Linked DNA regions of Homo sapiens: all the other regions are linked to region 5. Evidence: promoter capture Hi-C in 16 types of primary human blood cells and fetal thymus (Javierre and others, 2016). All regions are on one chromosome and are shown on one strand. The core of a region is centred on a gene start or on the middle of the fragment in contact, and the rest is flanking DNA. Distances in the headings are between cores, read along the strand shown.

Region 1 (3,787 bases), core at 76-2,575, 930 kb before region 5:
AGTAGAAAGGTGGTTGCCAAGCAACGGTTGGGGGAAGGGGAGAGGGTGAATTTGTATTTAGTGGGTACAGAGCTTGTGTTGCAAGAATTCTAGAGATCTGTTGCAAAACAAGTGTGATTGTACTTAACACTACTGAACTGTATACGTATAAGTTTGAGAAATATCTCTTTTAAAAAGGGGGAAATGTGAAGGCTTTTGCATGTATGCCCTAGGAAATGCATAGAATTCTTAGAAAGGTAAACATGGTAAAAAAAGAAGTCTTTGTTAACTTTCTGCAGTTCACCTGTTTCAAAGTATAGTTACCTTTAAAAGGGTAAACACACAAGATATGCATTTTCCAAAGCATACAGGCTTTCCTCCTAGCTGTCTTGTTTTTTATTTTTTTTTATTTTTTTTATTTTTTTGAGACAGAGTCGCGCTGTCACCCGGGCTGGAGTGCAGTGGCGCGATCTCGGCTCACTGCAAGCTCCGCCTCCCGGGTTCACGCCATTCTCCTGCCTCAGCCTCCTGAGTAGCTGGGACTACAGGCGCCCGCCACCACACCCGGCTATTTTTTGTATTTTAAGTAGAGACAGGGTTTCACCGTGTTAACCAGGATGGTCTCGATCTGACCTCGTGATCCACCCGTCTTGGCCTCCCAAAGTGCTGGGATTACAGGTGTGAGCCACTGTGCCTGGCCTTCCTAGCTGTCTTGTGAAACGATAAGTCAAAACCCTACTGCAGTGAGTTTTCCAAACTGAAGGGAGAAGCAATGTACAGAATGCCTGACTTGCCCTTACATCTTATACCTGGTGTTCTGGCATGATTATTAACCACACTCTTTTTCACTTTGAACCATGTCCTGGTTTGCATGGCCAGCTTCCCTGCAGAGGTGATAGAAACTGACTTGAGGCAGTTTCTTTCTCCATGCCTTAGTTAGATGACCCTCAAAGGGGCACAGCAGATTTCCCTGGCTACTGATACACCTTAACAAGAAGCTTGTGTTTTTTATGCCCTCAAAAGTGTTTTACTTATACTTTCCTAGACATAAAGGTGGAAAATGGGCCTAAGGTCTGTCAAAGGTCTTGGAAAAGAAGATTGTATTAAAATTGCTGTCCGTCTTCATTAAATAATACTAGATCGATACAATGCTTTCTTTACAGTATTAGTGGTTGGTGAAAGACTTCCTTCCTATTGTTACAGTATATGTATATATCTGTAAAATTAATGAGATATCCTTTAACTTGTAGATTAGAAAGCGACTAAAAACTCATAGGGGATTTACTAAAGAAGCAACAATGGGAAGAAGCAGCCGATCCTCCTCAGTGCACCTTTTTCTGTTGCACAGTACAGTGCACAGTGTGCTGGCATCACCATATAGGGCAAGCTGTGACCGCCTTTCTCCTTTCCCAGGGCTACATGGTGCCAAGCAGGTTCAGTGTACACTGGTTACCAACCTGTCTGATTCCATTGTGACAGAACACACTCACACCCAATACATTACATGAAGCAGATTTATTACTTACAGACAGGAAGCAAGGGACAAAAGAGGCCCTGGCTCCATTGTGAGCCAGTCCCCCAGGGCTCAAGAAAGCTGCCCAGGGCGGGGCTGATGGAGTCTTGATTGTACGTGCCCCACTTGCACCACAGCCTGCCTTGGGTTATATACCATAGGAGCCACATAACTCATTGGGCAAAGCTTTAAAGTACATCCTCCTTCCAGGGGAAAGAGGAACACAACCTCGCTGTCTCAAACAGTTCCCTAAATCAAGATGTTACATTCCCTAGGAGGGACAACAACAAGGCCAACCTGTTTCAGGCAGTTCCTCCATATCAGGATATTGCATTCCCAGTGCATTCTACAGTTATTCTTAAGAACTACAAGCAAGGAAGAAGGGAGAACTGGGTCAGTCCAAGGCCACCTGGAGAACTGTCTTGTACATGGGTTAGGGTAAAGTTGGCTATTCTAAAACTAAGCATCCGCCCAAAAGAAGTCTTGGAAGATGTCTTTCCCTGTTAAATTCAGATGATGGTAATTATAGTTTGGAAGTGGAATTGGCTTTTAGAGTTACTTCCTGTAATGAAATTAACAAGCAATTCAGGCCTATTTCTGAAAATGAATTCAGTGGTTAATTGTTAAAAATAAATGTCTAACTCCTATAAAAGGAAATTTACATTCATTTCTAACTCACTAAAAAATCTATGGCCGGGTGCGGTGGCTCATGCCTGTAATCCCAGCATTTTGGGAGGCCGAGGCGGGCAGATTACCGGAGGTCAAGAGTTCGAGAACAGCCTGGCCAATATGGTGAAACCCCGTCTCTACTAAAAAATACAAAAATTAGCCAGGTGGTTGTGGCATGCACCTGTAATCCCAGCTACGCAGGAGGCTGAGGCAGAAGAATCGCTTGAGCCCAGGAGGCGGAGGTTGCAGTGAGCCGAGATTTCTTAGAAGGAATTGTTACTTATTGTTCTGAAGTGAAAGTCTGGTCTGATTCAGAAGAAATGTTACAACAACTTAAACACTGATGCTTTCAGAACGGGCAGCAATTCTCAGCGTAAATTCTGATCACAGGGACCAGCAAAATTGGTGAGTTGCATAGCTACAACATTCTGTGCCATCCAGGGCACTCTAGTTTGGGGATACAACTGCCAAACCTCCAACTAGAGAGTTTAGTTTAAGATTTAGTCAAGAAGCAGAAAGGTAAAGGTGACAATGTGTAGTAAACCATGATAGATGTTATAAAAGGTGGAATACTTGTACTGGAAATGCATACAGCGCCTCATCCCCTCTTGAGGGGTCAGGAAGTTTTCACACTAATGATGATGGTGATGAGATGATGTAACAGCTAAAGTTTTGGAGGCATTCACTATTGCTAGGCACTGTATCAGCATATAACATGGCTTATCTTACTCAGTTTTCACAATAAAAGGGTTATGAGATGGGAACTATTATTACTATCTTGATTTTTACAAATGAGAAAACAGGAGTAGACATTAAGGAATTTACTCAAGATCACAGCCAACCAATGCACTGAGCTGGACAAGGTCAACTTGGGGGTGAAGGGCATATGTGTTGCTCCAAGTGTGTCAGTATAAGAGAGATTAGGGTGAGGTTTTATGCAGAGTTTGGGCTTCAGCTGAGTAATTCTAAGGAGGGATTAGGGGAAGGAAGGCAGTTTAGTAATTGAGTATCTCAGAAACTTTAATTTGGAGGAGAACGGAACAAAGGTAGGCCAAGGAAGCTATTCAATCACTCAAAAGATAGAGGTTATTAGTCATTTTACAGCTGTAATGCATCCTTGTGAGGAACATTTTTTGCTTGGCCTTGTCCCTGGCCTTGTATGTGTACATTACAGTCTGATTATTAGTTGGGATGATTTTTAGTTTCTCAATCCCTACTCTCATTGCCCCAGTTTAATTCCTCAACACCTCTCACCTAGATTATTGTGATACTCTAGTTTTATCTTTTAAATCCTTTATATTGCAAAGCAGAGTGATTTACCTAAAACACAAACACAACCACAATAAGCCTCTATTTAAAAAGCTTTCAACGGTTCACTGTTGTCTCTACAGAATGTAAACAGAGCGTCTTAACATGGCACACCAGGCCCTCCTTAACCTAGCCCTCCCAGCCCATCACAACAACTATATTCCTTGATATTCTCGAATTGCACTTTATTTTGTTTTGTTTTTTTGAGACGGAGCCTTGCTCTGTTGCCCAGGCTGGAGGGCAGTGGTGCCATCTCGGCTCACTGCGGCCGCCACCTCCTGGGTTCAAGCAGTTCTCCTGTTTCAGCCTCCAGAGTAG
Region 2 (3,594 bases), core at 473-2,972, 900 kb before region 5:
AAATTTTTTTGAGATGGAGTCTCATGCTGTCGCCCAGGCTGGAGTGCAGTGGCGTGATCTCTGCTTACTGCAACCTCTGCCTCCTGGGTTCAAGCAATTCATATGCCTCAGCCCCCCGAGTAGCTGGGATTACAGGTGCCTGCTACCACGCCCAGCTAATTTTTGTATTTTTAGTAGAGACAGGGTTTCACCATGTTGGCCAGGCTGGTCTCGAGCTCCTGACCTCCAGGGATCCACCCGCCTCGGCCTCCCAAAGTGCTCGTGTGAACCACTGCACCAGACTTTTTTAACAGATCATTTTTACTTTACTGAAACCTCTGCCTCCCGGGTTCAAGCGATTCTTCTGCCTCAGCCTCCTGAGTAGCTGGGACTACAGGCGCCCATCACCACACCCGGCTAATTTTTTGTGTTTTTAGTACAGACAGGGTTTCACCATGTTGACCAGAGGACAAGGAGAGAGAGAGGAATTCAAGTCATATTTTTAGGTTTTTAGTTTGAATAGACAGATAGACTGGCAACACTATTCACTGAGGGAGCATTCAGGTGGATGTGGGCCAGGGAGTGTAGAGGACAAGAGTTCTGTTTTGAGCACCACAAATAAGCAACTAGACATACGAGTCTTATGTAATGCTTTAAGGGGCTAGGGAAGATAAGACTGTCTGTTAAACATAGGTACAACTTGTTCAAATGCCAATTAGGTAGAAATTTACTGGCATATTGCAGAACCTCCTTTGCCTTATTAAAAAGTTAGAATTTTCTCCTAAATGCTAATTACCACTGGTCATGTCATATTTTAGCTTCTGCTAAATGTTTATGATTTCATCTAGCATTGTTTTTTGGGTTTTTTCGTTTGTTTGTTTGTTCGTTTTTTTTTAGACAGAGTCTTGCTCTGTCGCCTAGGCTGGAGTGCAGTGGCGTCATCTCGGCTCACTGCAACCTCTGCCTCCTGGGTTCAAGCGATTCTCCTGTCTCAGCCTCCCAAGTAGCTGGGATTACAGGCACGTGCCACCACACCTGGCTAATTTTTGTATTTTTAGTAGTGACGGGGTTTCACCGTCTTGGCCAGGCTGGTCTAGAACTCCTGACCTCAAGTGATCCACCCGCCTCAGCCTCCCAAAGTGCTAGGATTATAGGTGTGAGCCACCATGCCCGGCCTAGCATTGTGTTTTATATTCACTAATACCCCCTTTTACGAACTAGGACATGGTATATATACTCAAATATACTAAGTATTACTATTATTGAAACTATTATAAGACTATTTTAAATATTTTGCAATGTGATCTGGTAAATTTTCTATTTGAATAGAACGTCTCAGCTATGGGCCGGGCACGGTAGCTCATGCCTGTAATCCCAGCACTTTGGGAGGCTGAGGCGGGTGGATTGCTTGAGCTCAGGAGTTCGAGACTAGCCTGGGCAACATGGTGAAACTCCGTCTCTACAGAAAATACAAAAGTTATCCAGGCGTGGTGGTGTGCGCCTGTAGTCCTAGCTACTCGGAAGGCTGAGGTGGGAGGATCACTTGAGCCTGGGAGGCGGAGGTTGCAGTGAGCTGAGGTCACGCCACTGCACTCCAGCCTGGGTGACAGAGTGAGACCCTGTCTCAAAAAAAAAAGAGAAAAGTCTCAGCTATATATCCTTTGAAAGCTTTTCAAAAGATCTGTGATTCAAAAGAAAACTAGAACTTGTGTGCGTGTGTGTGTTTTAATTGTTCCACTTGAGATTCTTAACCAGAGAAACCAGATGTGACTTACCTGACTTCTGGGTTTTTATTAGTCCTGTGTTTGCACCATTTTAGGAAGCTTTGCAGAAGATGCTGGATCAGGCTGAAAATGAGGTATTTTTAAAACCTTACATTGATAATTTGAGACCAATTAATGTTTCCTTAGAAATAATAGTTCCAGTAATGTTAGTTTCGTGGTAGGTTAGTTAGATCATGTTTGGATATCTGGACTCATGTTTATGATGCTTTGATTTATACAACAACAACAAACTTTATTGATGAACAAATACAAATGGTATTCATGACCCCTGTGGACTGGACCTGTTTAGAGTCCTTACAGTATGTTTAAGCAACATCACATACCGTTAGCCTCCAGTGGACGGTTTACCTTGAATCAGAGTAACTTCTATTTCTGTCTGTGGTGGTTCCCTAATAAGTTCTTGGACCCTTTTTTTTCTCTTTTTTTCTTTTTTTTTTTTTTGAGACGGAGTTTTGCTCTTGTTGCCCAGGCTGGAGTACAGTGGTATGATCTCGGCTCACTGCAACCTCCGCCTCCCGGGTTCAAGCAACTCTCCTGCCCCAGCCTCCCAAGTAGCTGGGATTATAGGTGTGCACCACCACGCCCAGCTAATTTTATATTTTTAGTAGAGATGGGGTTTCTCCATGTTGGTCAGGCTGGTCTTGAACTCCTGATCTCAGGTGATCCACCCACCTCGGCCTCCCAAAGTGCTGGGATTACAGGCGTGAGCCACTGCACCCGGCCTTCTTGGACCCTTTTTAGAATGGATGGAAACCTTGGCGACTGCCCCTGGTGGCAGTAGTGATACCAGATAAAGGAAAGTGACCAGGAGCCAAGAGAGACATGGAGCTCATGTCTCAGTACCGTTGTTTGTAAAGTCTTGATTGCCTGTTCCAACTTAAATGTTTGCATTATTAAATGAAACAATGTTTATCTTTGAGGAAAATATTTTAATATACTTTGAAACATTTCGTCTTTCATGGGTTTTTACTCCACCAGTAAAGTCATGGTTATTTTCAACAGTTGGAAAATGGTACCACATGGCAAAACCCAGAACCACCCGTGGATTTCAGAGTAATGGAGAAGGATCGAGCTAATTGTCCCTTCTACAGTAAAACAGGAGCTTGCAGATTTGGAGATAGGTAACTAATTTTGTTTTATCATGTCAGAATGAAGTGATTCAAAATGCTGACGTTTTTGAGTTCCCCTTTTGGGAGAGGCGCATGTTTCCATTTCAAATGTCCGTCATCAGACATCTGCTGCCTTCTTGCTGCTGCTCTCGTTTTCCCAGCTGATCATCCTCTGCTTTGACCATCCCTGTTCCCTCTATCCTTGTTCCCTGGGTGGGCTTAGCCTAGTTCTCTGAGGGTGCTTCCTTTGCATTCTGCATCTTTAGGAAGCCACTTTGCTTGTTGGTTTCTTCCTGAGCTTGCATTAGTCCATGGTGGACAACTGGGTTGGGGAAATAATATATTTGAAGAGCTTAGAGCAGCTTGGCTTTATTTTTTGAAGGGCACACACTGTCCCCAAAACAGGCTTTTAAAACTTGGCATGTGCCAGGAGTTCCAGGCTGCAGTAAGCTATGACCACACCACTGCACTCCAGCCTGGGTGACAAAACAAGACCCTGTCTCAAAAAAGAAAAAAAAAAACAAAACTTGGCATGTGTAAAGGGATATCTGTGAAAGACAGGATCCAAATGAGGAGAGGAAAAGTGTTTTAATTTCTGTTGTCAGTGAGTGTGCCCAGACTCAGGTACAGACCGTTGGGTTCAAAACGGGCTTCAGTGGCTGCCAGTTTGGGAAAGTTGCTTAAGCTCTGTGTGCCTTCGTTCTCTCATCTATGAAATGGGA
Region 3 (3,555 bases), core at 331-2,830, 960 kb before region 5:
GCTTTCCCTCCTCTGCCCTCATCCCTCTAGATTATTAAGTTCCTGCAACTTAACTGGGAACTGATCAAGATTTCAAGCTAAAGATGGTGGTGATGAACAGCCTGAGGGTCATTCTTCAAGCCTCTCCAGGCAAATTGCTGTGGAGAAAGTTCCAGATTCCGAGATTCATGCCAGCGAGGCCCTGCAGCCTCTATACTTGTACTTACAAAACCCGGAACCGAGCCTGTGAGTACACCACTTCCTTAAAGAGAACAAAAAGGGCTCCAGCCTGAGTGACAGAGTGAAATCTCATCTCTTAGAAAAAAAGAGAAAAGAAAAGAGGGAGCAAGTGTGCAAGAGCAAAAATACTCATCTTTATAATAATCACACATGTTAAACATTTGTAGCTATGCTGTCTTTGGCTTTCCAGTGTAGGATTATATGCCTTATGAACTGTGAGAATAACTGTTTCTCTGTTGATTCATGAAAGTAAATGTAGAATGTTCTTTCTTGACTAATTTTAGCATGTTAAAATGATGTCATGCAGAAACTGGACAAGAGACAGATCCCGGTTTTTAATATTTTGGAACCTGTTGTTTATTATTTCTTGGTAGCAATTGTCTTTTTTTTTTTCTTTTAAACAAAGGTTGATCCACAAACCACAAATTATTTCTGGGAACCTTAAGTTTCTGGAAGTTGCATGTAAATGTTTGTAAACAGTTTACTAGCTTCAACGTTCTGGAATATTCTGTCCTGAGTTAGGAATTACTGAATTAATTCTAGCTGATCAGTTTGCAAGTGTGTGCTCTGCTGTAAGGATGGAAGATTGAGTGAGGCAGGAAATGGTCTTCCTCACACCTCTCTCATCTCGTTCCCCTCCTGGAAATACAAGGCATTGCCCATGTCCGGATGTGGCAGGGATTCTCCACTGCGGCATGATGGACATTGAGGATGGATCATTGTGTGTTGTAGGGGGTTGTCCTGTGCCCTGGAGGGTCTTTAGCAGCATTCCTGGCCTCTGCCTACTAGTTGCTAGTAGCACCCTCATGAAGCTATAACAACCAAAACTGTCTGCAGACATTGCCAAACATGCTCTGCGTGACTGCCCTAGAGAGGGCAGTTGAGAGAATGGGAAAGGATAATGTGTGTATTTGTGAACAGATAACTTTGAGTTAATGAAGAGATGAAATGGCTAAGTATTATCATTAAGGAGGAATTTTTCATGTTTTCCATTATTTAAAAAACATTGGCACAGAGTTTTCAAATGTTGGACTGCACTGAGGTCTAGGTTTCTCCCCTTTAGTGTTTATTTTCTTTGACCCCATATGCACATAATAAAAAGACTGAGTAAGAATGGAATGCTTGTAAATTAGTAATGCTAATCTAGCTACATCCAAGGGCTTGAAACTGCTCTACAAATATATTTTCACTGTAAGTTTATTTTGTTTCCTTCAACATTGACTGTGTTCTTTTTCAAATAAACGGACCAGAGGCATAATAAATTTCTGGTTGCTAGGTGTGGTTTCCTACAAACATGCCACATCCTACTGAGACTGGCTTATTCTGAACACTGGCACTTTGTGGTCTATGGTTTATATTGGAAAGTATTAATAGTTTTGCTTTTTTTTTTTTTGACAGTTGAAATTAAACATCCAAATCCGGTATACGTATGTAGTTAGGATAGTTTGCTGCTTTTAGTGCTGACAAAAAAAAACAAACAGTAGTGGCTTCGGGAGGGGCAGTTTTACTTAGTGAATTTCCCACAACAGATGACATGTTCTTGTTTCTAAGTTACTAGGAAAAACAGGGGACAGTCACCATTTGATTTTGTTTGTAGCATATTATACTGTTCCAACCTGTTTGCCCCAAGAATAATATTGTGGTCTTTGCTGCTCTGGGCCTTCGAGCCGGTCCTGTTTCTATGTTCTGGACCCTCGTCTGCTCAATTGTAAAGACAATTCTCATTGTTTCTGACAGCTCAATACCCCAACAGAAGGCCAATGTACACTTGTGACCAAGAATGACCCCAGATTCTTGAGGGTTTGAAAAGATAACGTGTTAATGAAAAAAGCCAAATTCTAAAATATTTGAAGAGGTTCATTCTGAGCCAAATATGAGTGACTGTGGCCCATGATACAGCCTCAAGAGGTCCTGAGAACACATGCCCAAGGTGGTTGGGTTACAGCATGGTTTAGGGAGACAGAAGTTACACGCAAGACATAAATCAATACATGTAAGGTATACATTGTGAGGACGAAACTCTGATTTTTTTTTTATCTTGCCCAAATTCCTATCTAAGGGGTCTGGGGAGTCATGCCCCACAAATCATAAATTCTCACCAGATGGGTTTTATTCAACCCTATATATCGTGATTTACTTTCCAAGCTGACTTTGGCATAACATTACAAGACAAAGAAGAAAATCAAAATATTTTACCCCAAAACATGTTTCTTTGCCATGTTTTGAAATAGCCCTGCAAAGCTGTTCTGCATGGGGGAAAATTTGTATCTGTAAAGAATCTCTGGGCCAGGCGCGATGGCTTACGCCTGTAATCTCAGCACTTTGCGAGGCCGAGGCGGGCGGATCACAAGGTCAGGAGATCAAGACTATCCTGGCTAACACGGTGAAACCCCGTCTCTACTAAAAATACAGAAAATTAGCCAGGCGTGGTGGTGGGCGCCTGCAGTCCCAGCTACTAAGGATGCTGAGGCATGAGAATGGCGTGAACCCGGGAGGCGGAGCTTGCAGTGAGCCGAGATCGCGCCACTGCACTCCAGCCTGGGCGACAGAGCGAGACTCTGTCTCAAAAAAAAAAAAAATCTCTGTTAACATAGCTAGATCTTTTTTTTCCAGACCCTCCCAATCCTAAAGAGATTAACTAAGATCTGAATAGGAAATATTTCTCATCTATTGTCTCTAAGGGCAGCTACTATAAGACTTCAAAGGAACTTTGATCTCCACAATCTTTATCTTAACCTGAACATTCCCTTTCTACCAATCCCAGGTCTTTAGACAAACTCAACCAATTGTCAACCAGAAAATGTTTAAATTTACCTATAGCGTAGAAGCCCCCCCAACCCCCACCCCAGCTTTGAGCTGTCCCGCCTTTCTGGACCAAACCAATGCATTTCTTAAATGTATTTGATTGATGTCTCGTGCCTCTCTAAAATGTATAAAAACAAGCTGTACCCTGAGCACCATGAGCACATGTTCTCAGGTCCTCCTGTGGGCTGTGTCACAGGCCACAGTCACCCATATTTGGCTCAGAATAAATCTCTTCAAATATTTTACAGAGTTCGACTCTTTTCGACAACACTTGGTTTGGCCTAGAAAGGTAGGACATCTCTAAGCAGGGGCTTACAGGTCATAAGTAAGTGGATTCAAAGATTTTCTGTTTGGCAGTTGGTTGAAAAAGTTAAGCTTTGCCTAAAGAGTTGAAGTCAACTGAAAGAAATGCTTGAGTTAAGATAAGGGGGATTGTAGAAGCCAAGGTTCTTGTTATGTAGATGAAGCCTCCCAGTAGCAGGCTTCAGAGAGATTAGATGGTAAACCTCTCTTATGGGACCTTAAAAGGTG
Region 4 (3,579 bases), core at 90-2,589, 980 kb before region 5:
TCTTCCTGAGTAGCTGAGATTACAGGTGCCCACCACCGCGCCTAGCTAATTTTTGTATTTTTAGTAGAGACAGTGTTTCGCCATGTTGGCCAGGCCAGTCTCGAACTCCTGACCTCAGGTGATCTGCCTGCCTCGGTCTCCCAAAGTGCTGGGATTATAGGCATGAGCCACCGTGCCAGCCTCAGAGTGTCTTATAGAACCTCAGGATTGCATCTCCTGGCAGCATGCTTGAAATCTAGAATCTCAAGTCACATCGCGGAACCACTGCATCAGAGTCTGCATTGTAACATGATCTTCGGGTGATCTCTGGGCACAGTGCAGATTGAGAGGCTCTGGATACAACTTCAGATATGGTTGTCAGGAAAAACATATCTAAAGAGGTGACATTTTAGCTAAGTACTGAATAATGAGAAAACTCCAGCCATGTAAAGATCCGAGTAAAGAGTGGTCCAAACAATGGGAACAACAAAAGAAAATGTTCAGAGACAGGAATGAACATGGGAAGACCAGTATAGGTGGATCAGAGTGAGAAAGGGACCTGGAACTCTCTACACTCTGGTATTTATCAAAAACCCTGTGGTGAGAAATTATTTATTTATTTATTTATTTTTGAGACGGAGTTTCGCTGTTGTTGCCCAGCCGGGAGTGCAATGGTGCAATCTCGGCTCACTGCAACCTCTGCCTCCCAGGTTCAAGCAATTCTCCTGCCTCAGCCTCCCTAGTAGCTGGGATTACAGGCATGTGCCACCATGCCTGGATAATCTTCTATTTTTCGTAGAGATGGGGTTTCTCCAGGTTGGTCAGGCTGGTCTCAAACTCCTGACCTCAGGTGATCTGCCCGCCTCAGCCTCCCAAAGTGCTGGGATTACAGGCATGAGCTGCTGCGCCTGGCCACGAGAATTGTTGATTTTGAGTGACTGCACAAAGTTCTGCATGCAAGACCTCTATTTCTACAAAGCAGAGGTACCAGGTAGGTTATTGCATGCAGCCACTTACCTATCCTGCACCCACAGCATTGTTAACTGAGTACAGAACTTTTTCTTTCTGAGCCTGGACAAAGCCCCCAAACTTCTCAACATAGTTATTCAGGCAGCTACTACAAATAGTTCAGAGTTAACATGTGAGTTGAAACCTATTTGCCATCCTGGGGAAAGATGATCTAAATGCTACCCTGGATTAAGCCAGACCATTGAGGGCTTGTGTATTCAAGTGAACAGAAATATGTTGATGGTTCATGGAATTTTTTTTTTTTTTGATACAGGGTCTCAGTCTGTTGCCCAGGCTGTAATGCCGTGGTGTGATCACGGCTCACTGCAGCCTCAGCCTCCCTAGGCTCAGATGATCCTCTCACTTCAGCCTCCCAAGTAGCTGGGACTACAAGCATACATCACCACACTCAGCTAATTTTGTAGAGATGGGGCTTCACCATGTTGTCCAGGCCGGTCTCTAACTCGTGGGCTCATGCAATCCTCCTGCCTCAGCCTCCCAAACTACTGGGATTACAGGCCTGAGCCACTATGCCTGGCCAATTCATAGAATTGATTTAATGCACTGTGCTTTGTGATTGTGCCAACAGTTTCCATTGAGGGGATTTGGGTGTCACTCCTTATGACACATAGTTCCCACTAGGCTCACTACATCATCTTTATGAGGAAACTGTATTTCTCTCAGGACTAAAATTCAAGAAAAACTGCTTCTATAAAAACAAAACAGCCGGGCACGGTGGCTCCCGCCTGTAATCCCAGCACTTTGGGAGGCTGAGGCAAGTGGATCACCTGAGGCCAGGAGTTCGAGACCAGCCTGGCCAGCATGGTGAAACCCCGTCTCTACTAAAAATACAAAAATTAGCTGGGCATGGTGGCGGGCGCCTGTAATCCCAGCTATTTGGGAGGCTGAGGCAGGAGAATCACTTGAACCCGGGAGGCAGAGGTTGCAGTGAGCCGAGATCATGCCATTGCACTCCAGCCTGGGCAACAAGAGTGAAATTCCATTAAAAAAAAAAAAAAAAAAAAAAAGGCCGGGTGCAGTGGCTCACACCTGTAATCCCAGCACTTTGGGAGGCCGAGGCGGGTGGATCACCTGAGGTCGGGAGTTCAAGACCAGCCTGACCAACATGGAGAAACCCCATCTCTACTAAAAATACAAAATTAGCCGGGCATGATGGTGCATGCCTGTAATTCCAGCTACTCAGGAGGCTGAGGCAGGAGAATCGCTTGAACCTGAGGGCCGAAGGTTGCAGTGAGCTGAGATCGCGCCATTGCACTCCAGCCTGGGCAACAAGTGCAAAACTCTGTCTCAAAAAAAAAAAAAAAAAAAAGGGAAAAGAAAAAAAGCCAGTTTTTATCTTATGAACAGTAAAAACCTAAAAATGATTGCTATTTCCTCTTTTCTATGGCTATTCAACAGCTTAGTTAGGGTCAAATTTCTGGCCTACTTCTGACAACTGTTCTGGATCTGATGGAGTGCAAACTTAAATGTTAATCTTATCATTGGCCACATCATTCTCCTTCCATTAAGCTCTCCTTTCACTGGTTCCTTCCCCTATTTTTAAATCTACTAATGTCTATATTTTAGGACGCTGCCTCAAATCATTTGTGGAAGAAGGTGAAGTAGAACTACTTGTATAAAAATAAACTCAGTAATTTATATAGACTGTATTTGGACCAATTTCTGTGAATTCATTTTTCAGGCAAAAAATGACTGACAGTTGAAACATTTTATAAATGAGGCAGAGTTCTCAGGGTCAGGGCGAGCATAATGAAAGTGTTCTGTTGAAAGTTGTTCTTTTCTCTGTGTTCCTTCTAGCCCAACATTTTGAATATTCTCACTGTCTTCAAGCCAGAAATGCAAGGGAGGAGAAGAAAAAAGAACTGTGTGATAGTAAAATCTTTATTGTTGGCATATGAAGCAATATAAGTAGCAAATTTTACTTCTACAAAGGGGGGAAATTATATATTTCTATACATGTGGAAGAGTAGATATTCAGTGAAGATTTTTTGATAATTTATTGTGTAAAGAAATGTACTAAATACTATAAAAGTGGCTTCCTATGTTTACTACCCCCAAATATTCCTACTAATGACCTGAGATTACCAACTCCTTTTCCACCTATTAACCTTTTGCCACATCTTCCCCAATTTTCTCATCCAAACCCAAGTTGGGGCAACTTCAGACTGTAAGCTTCTTGAGGCTTGTCTTGTTTGTCAGGGGAGCATGTACTCAATAAATGAAATTTGCATGAATGAGTCAGAGATTTATGTACACAGGGGAAGAAAGCTGGTTATAGCTTCTTCATATTTTTCACGTGGACCCAGAGTTGTAAATTGAGGGAAGAAGGATAGCAGAGTAATCTCAAAGCACAAAGTGGGGGTGATGTCTTCACACGCCCTCAGCAGCAACGGGGCACTGGGTGCTTAGGAAAGCCCATCTGAAGGAGACATCAGGAAGTAGAGGAATTCTGTTTTTTCCACTCATCTGCCTAGTATTTAAGGTCGGCTAAGAGGCTAGAAGGAACACATCCACAGTTCTGCTTTAGAGGATATGAAAATTGGGCTGGAAGGAACACGGGTCCACAGTTCG
Region 5 (3,311 bases), core at 107-2,606:
CAGAAATCAGGTGCCTGTACTCAGAGCACATCTCAGTACGGATTTTGCCACATTTCCAGTATTCAATAACCACATGTGACCAGTGGCTCCCACATTAGACCAGGCAGGCCTAGAGCAAATAAAAGCACCGGAAGCACCCAGAGACACCTTCTCAGTGATGGCCATTTAAAAAGTAATGTTAGACACAAAAGAGTACTTACCTGATGATCTTGTTCTATGAAGTTCTAGAACAGTCAAAGCTAAGCTATGATAACAATCAGAACCGGGGTTGAGTGCGGGGCCTGGGGTGGATTGACAGAAAGGAGGTACCAGGGAACTTTGCAGGGTGAAGGAAATGGTCAATGTTCACTTTGGGATAATGGTTACAGGAGTGTATAATTTGTCAAATCCCGTCGATTTGCACACTGAAAATGGGACATTTTGTTGTATATAAACCATACATACAATTCTTTTTTATGTTGCCCCCAAAAAAGCTATTCTGTAGCAGCAGCGTAGTTCGGCACTATGCGCCCTAACCATCTAGTACGGGGAAAACGCGGGGGTCGTTGTTTAAGGGGTGCACTGGGACCGGGGAGAGGACAGAAAGGCCATGTTACCGGCGCTGATCACCAGCCTCGCAGACCCCCGCTCGGGGCTTCACTTCCGCCAACGCCATCTCAGGGCTCTCCTGGCTCCCGAGGGCCGGGAGAAGTGGGGATCCGGGTGCGGGCGCTGGCGCGGGCGGAGGCGGGAAGAAGCGCGTCCCGGGGACGCGCGGGACAGGCTCCAACCGCACTGGGCACGGGCCAGCGTTCCCCAGTCCCCGCGCCACACCCGGCAGCCGAGGTCTGCGAGCGCGGGGCTGGCGGCCGGACCCGACTCAGCGCTGGGCAGGGAGCCGGCGCCATCAGAGAGCGGACAAAGGAGCCCGGCCCCACAAGTGCACCGGGGCTGGGGGTGCAGGGCGGAGAGGCCCTGGGGACGAGGGATGGCCCGGGCGCCGAGGCCCTGGGGGTCTGGGACAGGCCCAGAAGGGAAGTTACCTGCGCGGTGGTGGTAGCACCGGGGAGGGTGGCCGGTGGGCACGGCGGGCTCCACCCCGCGGCTGGCCTGGCGCTCACCTGTCGGGCTGGGGAAGGGGTCGCTGCCGGGGCTGTCCAAAGCCGCCCCCGGGATCTTCCCACCGCCCACACGGGCCTCGGGGTGCGCGGCGCCCTCCTCGCCCACCTTCCCCTCTCCTCCCTGCTGCTGGCCCAGCTCACTCACGCTGGTGAGCTTGGGGTTTGCACCCGGGTTTGTGCAATGGTCCAAAACAAGCGCCTAAAAAGTGATTCCTCCAGCACAGGCAGCTCCCGTCACCCTCCGCTCTGGACGCACTGGGCCCCAGGCCTCGCCCAGCCCGGGGACCGCTCCTCCCTCCCGTGGCTCACTTTGCAAAGGCACTTCGAGTGCGCGGGTGAACTCCACGCTTCCCGGGGAACCCCGGCTTCCTGGCAAGCCGAGACCCTCGCTCGGGTCCTCCCGTGCAGATCTCACCCTTGTAAAGAACTTCACTGGTCACAAACGCTTGTGGATCCCCTACTACGCCCCAGGAACTGCAGGAGCGCTCAGGAGAGAAGGAAAAGGAAAGAGAATGCCTGCCTTTGAGGAGCTAGCTCACAGTCTGGTGGGAGGTCCACCCGTCTGTTGGAACCAGTAAGGTTCCCTAGAACAATACTTCTGCAGCAAAGAGTTGCGGGGGTGCAGTGAGGGGAGGAAGGCAATTAAGGCTTCCAAGAGTGACTTTTTTTTTTTTTTTTTTTTTGAGACGGAGTTTCGTTCGCCCTTTTTGCCCAGGCTGGAGTGCAATGGCGCGATCTGGGCTCACTGCAACCTCCGCCTCCCGGGTTCAAGCGATTGTCCCTGCCTCAGCCCCCGGAGTAGCTGGGATTACAGGCGGATGCCAAAAAGCTCGGCTAATTTTGCATTTTTAACAGAAACGGGGTTACATCACGTTGGCCAGGCTGGTCTCGAACTCCCGACCTCAGCTGATCCTCCTGCCTTGCCTCCCAAAATGCTGGGATTACAGGCTTGAGCCACTGCACCCCGCCCAAATACTCTAAAAAGTCACTCTTCGGGTGACTCACGCCTGTAATCCCAGCACTTTGGGAGGCCAAGGCAGGCGGATCACCTGAGGTCGGGAGTTCGAGACCAGCCTGGCCAACGTGGTGTAACCCTGTCTCTACTAAAAATGCAAAATTAGCCAGGTGTGGTGGCACCTGCCTGTAATCCCACCTACTCCGAAGGCTGAGGCAGAGAGAATCGCTTGAACCTGGGAGGCAGAGGTTGCAGTGAGCCGAGATCAGGCCACTGCACTCCAGCCTGGGTGACAGAGGAGACTTTGTCTCAAAAAAAAAAAAAAAAAAGAGTATTGGAGGATGATTGGTGCTGGGAACGGATACAGGAGGTTTTTCGGGTGAAGGCAAGAAGCCAACCACTGAAGGAAGCTAACATGGACAACAGAAGGGTCTGAAGTGAGATGGAAGGTTTTAGGAAAGTGGTGGAAATTTCGCATAACCAGTGTGAGATGCTAGAGCGACAAGTTAGACAAGAGTCACTGAAGACCTAGTGGAGTTTAGAAACCATCATCGTGTAGTGGTGTCCAGCTATAATCTGCTATAATCTGGCAAGGTATCTACAGAAATATAGCTCTTAGTTATGAAACCCAAGTTTCCTGCTTGCATAGAATAGAAGGACAAGAGGGTGAGGAGGTGGAGGGCACAGAAAGACTGCGATTGCAGTGATGGGCCAGAGCTCTAGTCCTAGAGGACAGGAACTGTTAATAAAACCAGCGGGGAGCTGATGGACTGGGAGACAGATGAGAGAAGGGCTCCAAGGCCAGGGCCTCTGAGGAGAGGACTGGCAAACTGGCAGCAGAGAGTGTGGTGCTGGAGTTCAGGCCTTCAAATGGATATTCCAGGAAATGAGACAGTTTGGGGTGTGGCAGCTACAATGGAATAGAAAAGTGAGATGGGCATCACTGGCCTTGGGTTTAGTGCCCACAAGGCTGGTATGTTGGACATCGAGGGTCCCAAAAGGATGGCAGGAGGTGGAGGAGTCAATCGAGGTCAAGGAACTTTAGAGAATTGGGGTTGCGGGGTGGGTAGTGAGCCTGAAACTAATAGATGACTGTGACAAGGAAAGGGAGAAGGTTGCAGAACAAATGTCAGTGCCTTTCAAGACACAATGGAGGCCTGGCGCCATGGCACACCCCTGTAATCCCAGCACTTTGAGAGGCTGAGGCAGGCAGATAGTTTGAGTCCAGGAGTTGGTGACTTACCTGGACAACATGG
Region 6 (3,616 bases), core at 992-3,491, 1.0 Mb before region 5:
CTCATCGCCTTGACAGCCAGTATTGCTATAACTCATACTGCCTGGCAGCAAGATCAGCATGTCCCTCCATGCAGGGCACCTGGCCAAGAACCAACTCTTCCTGCCTGGAACATTTTTCCCCTGGCAGGCTCCTTTTTGTTAATCCAGTCCCAGCTTAAATGACACTTCCTCACAAAGGCCTCCTCCTGACCACCCAAGATAAAGAAGTCCCTGCCATCCCACCCCACCATATCATATCATTATCAAGGTAGTTAGTAGTTCTTTTCGTTTGTAACGTGTTTACCATCAATTTCTCCATTGGTCTACAGATGCCATGAAGAGCATTTCCTAAGGACACTCAAGTTGTCACTTGTGTGTTCCAATTTTGGCTTGGGAAATTTTGTGCACCGTGGGCCTAACAGCCATCTTTTATGTCACTGTGACCTATGCAGTTGGCTGCTACTTTTTCATGCAACTACACACAAGTAAAGGTGCAAGTATGTAGACAGTGGTGGCCCCAGGGGATGGTTTGGGGAGAATTTAGCCCATGACAAGTTCCATCAGTACTTCTCTCATAGGCACTCCATATAAATGTGAGATCTCAGTGAAAGGGGAGCTTGCTGCCAAAATGTAGTTTCAACACAAGTCCCGTATAATCTCTCCACCCATCAACAAAGAAAATTTGAAGCCACCACTGTCTGTGAGGGTAGGCTTTCTCATTGACTACTGAAAACTAGAAGGAATGTTTCATATATCATTAATGGCTATTTTGCTCATAGGATGGAATTTTTTTTTTTTTTTTGAGACAGGGTTTTTCTATGTCACCCAGGCTGGAGTGCAGTGATATGATCATAGGTCACTGCTGCCTTGAACTCCTGGACTCAAGTGATTCTTCCTACTCAGCCTCCCAAGTAGGTGGGACAACAGGTACACACCACCGTGCCCAATTAATTTTTTAAAAATGTTTTGTAGAGACGGGGTCTCACTTTGTACTCAGACTGGTATTGAATTCTTGGTTTCAAGTTATCCTTCCACCTCAGCCTCCCAAAGTGTTAGGATTACAGGTGTGAGCCACTGTGCCCAGCCAGGATGGATTTCAAACTAATTTACATTGCAGTGAAACAACTCCCTTGGGCATGAAGGAAGAACTGGCTTTAGATGTTCCCTTGTACTATCTGTAATATAACTTCAGATAGGAAAAGAATAACTTGCTGAAATACAAATAAAATCCAAATCCTCATTTCGGTGAAGAATTTTAGGATTCTCTTTCCTCAAAGTTATTTTCATAAATATAAGGAAAAATAAATTTGAGTTTCACTATCCCCTTGGTGCCTTTCCCTGCTTAAGTAGCAGAAGCACACAAAGACCTCTAATCTACAAACTTGAAAATCAAGAAAGACTATTGTTGATTAAGAGTTGGTACATGCTGTAAAGATAGGGAAGGCTTATTAACACAATGTAGAGATGATGAATGAGCCTGTTCAAGTGTAGATAACAATGATAAGCTCAGAGCAGCAGATAAAAATGAAGATCCTACCTCCCAGGATGGCATCTGGAAGTGGATAGTATTCTGCCAGCTTTGGAAACTGGATGAAAAGCAAATCTGGCAGAGGTACCCATTTCATTCCCAGCTTGCTCAGTAGCTGGTGATTGGAAGAAACTCTGCAACAGTGTTCAATCCCTGGACAGGAAACCCTCCTTCCATGATTCTTCTTTAACATGGGTCTGAGAAAAAGAGAAATACAGTATTTTTTAAAATGAAGATGCTAGCCAACTCTCACCAGAACACATACTTAAATTGTTTTTCAGATCTTGAGGATGATTTAACCTGATCTGTCCTTTCATTGATTCCTCTTAAAACCAAGAGCTTGAGCTGGCTGGGTAGGGGTCCAGTTTTGGTCACAAAAGAAAGCCCCAAGCTATTTAGATCAGAACAGGATTGATGTAGTTCTAGATTGGGTTGGGTATCCTGCCAGTGGAACCAACTTATCCTGGGCAAGTGTGAACAGATTGAAAGCTTGTTCATTGAAATACATAGCATACTTCTCCTAGGGCATTCAAAACATTTCAAAGAAAGAGCCTCCATGCATAAGTGAAATTGAGCATATATACTAATGAGAAGGTGTACAACTCACAAGAGGATAAGGAAAGAGATAATAGCTCTCAACATATGTATACTCTGTGACCCAAATTTCTATTCCTAAGTAAATACCCAAGAAAAAGCATACAGAAAAAACACGTACAAGAAGGTCCATAGCAGTTTAGCCACCTGTTGTGCATGTATCTGACACATAATAGGTGCTCAATAAATGTATATAATTGAACATATCTTTATATCCCACATATGGTTTCACAGGCCAAGTGACACATACTAGTTGTGTCATCAGTTCATACTTCTAGCATGTACTATAAATACTTTAATAAAAACCATTTTATTAACAATTTCCATTTTAGTCTATTATTGCTTTAATAAAACATTGGAATGAGGTCTTTAGGAATGATTTACTCAAGCTTAAGATAACTATGCAGAAGGGCCCAGCAATAAAGAAAGTGTTATTAGAAAGCAATTTTTTCAAAATGAACACTCAGGTACTTCACTTACCGTTTTAGTTGCCAGAGCTGCTCTGTCTCACTCTAAAAGCATTTTCTTGCAAAGGGGTTGGTTTTGATCAACCCAAAAATCTGGCAGCTGTGAAAATCAAAGTTAATGCTATAGAACAGCGTTGTCCAATGGGACATTCTGTGATGATGGGAATGTTCTGTGTCTGTATATGGCAGCCACTACACATAGATGGCTATTGAGCACTCGAAAGAGTGGTAATAATGACAAAATGTGTCAAACAGAGCCCAGTGATTCCTAATATTTTATGCAACTGGAATGAACAAAAAACAGATCTACAACTGAATGGCTCCAAATTATTTACTGAAAGTTTACCCTCTGTCATTTTAGGTGGTTTAATATTTTCTGTTGAAACTCATAAAACAGTCACAGGCTCAAATTTCAAGCCTCAACACATCTGCAAATTTAGAGAAATAACAAGTCCTTTAAATCAAAGATGCACTCAACAGAAAACTGGTTTGTTTTTGTTTATTTTTTTTATTTTTGCTTGGAACAGAGCTGGATGCAAAATTAGGTTGTTTATTGCTGTTTTTTAATATTATTTTTATTGCTGTTTTGACAGTGGTTATTGTCCAGCCTTTTCTCTTACTGGCCCATGTTAATGTATTTTTAAGTTTCAAGGCTAACTACCTGGTTGACAGAGTTCCACCTGAATAGCAATTTCTGGCCAGGCACGGTGACTCATGCCTGTAATCCCAACACTTTGGGAGGTGGATCACTTGAGGTCAGGAGTTCGAGACCAGCCTGCCCAACATGGTGAAACCCTGTCTCCACTAAAAACACAAAAATTAGCCGGGCGTGGTGGCGGGCGCCTGTAATCCCAGCTACTTGGGAGTTTGAGGCTGGAGAATTGCTTGAACACGATCTCATCACTGCACTCCAGCCTGGGCCACAGAGTGAAACTTCATCTCGAAAGAAAGAGAGAGAGAGAGAGAGGGAGGGAGGGAGGGAGGGAGGGAGGGAAGAATAGCAGTTACCAGGAAAAGAGGTCACAACATCCTTTTGGAATAGAAAACA

Evidence for each region. The method cuts DNA at HindIII sites, captures the fragments that hold promoters and counts their contacts. A CHiCAGO score of 5 or more calls a contact.
Region 1: a fragment that was not itself captured here is called in contact with the fragment with the promoter of CTPS2 in region 5 in 1 of 17 cell types (naive CD8 T cells); the score reaches 8.1 in naive CD8 T cells.
Region 2: a contact is called between a fragment that was not itself captured here and the fragment with the promoter of CTPS2 in region 5, in 1 of 17 cell types (naive CD4 T cells). The highest score is 6.1, in naive CD4 T cells.
Region 3: a fragment that was not itself captured here is called in contact with the fragment with the promoter of CTPS2 in region 5 in 1 of 17 cell types (fetal thymus); the score reaches 6.2 in fetal thymus.
Region 4: a fragment that was not itself captured here is called in contact with the fragment with the promoter of CTPS2 in region 5 in 2 of 17 cell types (non-activated CD4 T cells and total CD8 T cells); the score reaches 5.7 in non-activated CD4 T cells.
Region 6: a contact is called between a fragment that was not itself captured here and the fragment with the promoter of CTPS2 in region 5, in 1 of 17 cell types (naive CD8 T cells). The highest score is 5.4, in naive CD8 T cells.

What each region holds. Positions count from the first base shown.
Region 1 is chrX:15,785,487-15,789,273 of GRCh38, forward strand. It overlaps CA5B (carbonic anhydrase 5B), which reads left to right. Exons shown (of 8, transcript NM_007220.4): 8 at 1-2,925. It overlaps CA5BP1-CA5B (CA5BP1-CA5B readthrough), which reads left to right. Exons shown (of 12, transcript NR_160544.1): 12 at 1-2,925. It overlaps INE2 (inactivation escape 2), which reads right to left and starts at 2,103. Exons shown (of 1, transcript NR_002725.2): 1 at 230-2,103. The HindIII fragment of the contact is 701 bases long and covers 976-1,676 here.
Region 2 is chrX:15,806,435-15,810,028 of GRCh38, forward strand. It overlaps ZRSR2 (zinc finger CCCH-type, RNA binding motif and serine/arginine rich 2), which reads left to right. Exons shown (of 11, transcript NM_005089.4): 6 at 1,799-1,837; 7 at 2,766-2,884. Among named protein-coding and RNA genes, the nearest start is that of ZRSR2, 18 kb to the left of the region's middle. The HindIII fragment of the contact is 155 bases long and covers 1,646-1,800 here.
Region 3 is chrX:15,749,941-15,753,495 of GRCh38, forward strand. It overlaps CA5B (carbonic anhydrase 5B), which reads left to right. Exons shown (of 8, transcript NM_007220.4): 2 at 31-225. The coding sequence starts at 84. CA5BP1-CA5B (CA5BP1-CA5B readthrough) reads left to right here. Exons shown (of 12, transcript NR_160544.1): 5 at 31-225. Among named protein-coding and RNA genes, the nearest start is that of CA5B, 13 kb to the left of the region's middle. RefSeq lists an enhancer at 2,924-3,555. The HindIII fragment of the contact is 3,634 bases long and covers 1-3,397 here.
Region 4 is chrX:15,734,140-15,737,718 of GRCh38, forward strand. The region is part of intron 4 of CA5BP1-CA5B (CA5BP1-CA5B readthrough); the gene reads left to right. Among named protein-coding and RNA genes, the nearest start is that of CA5B, 2.3 kb to the right of the region's middle. The HindIII fragment of the contact is 3,678 bases long and covers 1-3,178 here.
Region 5 is chrX:16,711,313-16,714,623 of GRCh38, forward strand. CTPS2 (CTP synthase 2) reads right to left here and starts at 1,357. Exons shown (of 19, transcript NM_175859.3): 1 at 1,023-1,357. RefSeq lists silencers at 810-1,079, 1,140-1,229. The HindIII fragment of the contact is 10,682 bases long and covers 1-3,311 here.
Region 6 is chrX:15,714,695-15,718,310 of GRCh38, forward strand. The region is part of intron 3 of CA5BP1-CA5B (CA5BP1-CA5B readthrough); the gene reads left to right. It overlaps LOC124905268 (small nucleolar RNA SNORA7), which reads left to right and starts at 1,514; the gene lies at 1,514-1,652. The HindIII fragment of the contact is 494 bases long and covers 1,995-2,488 here.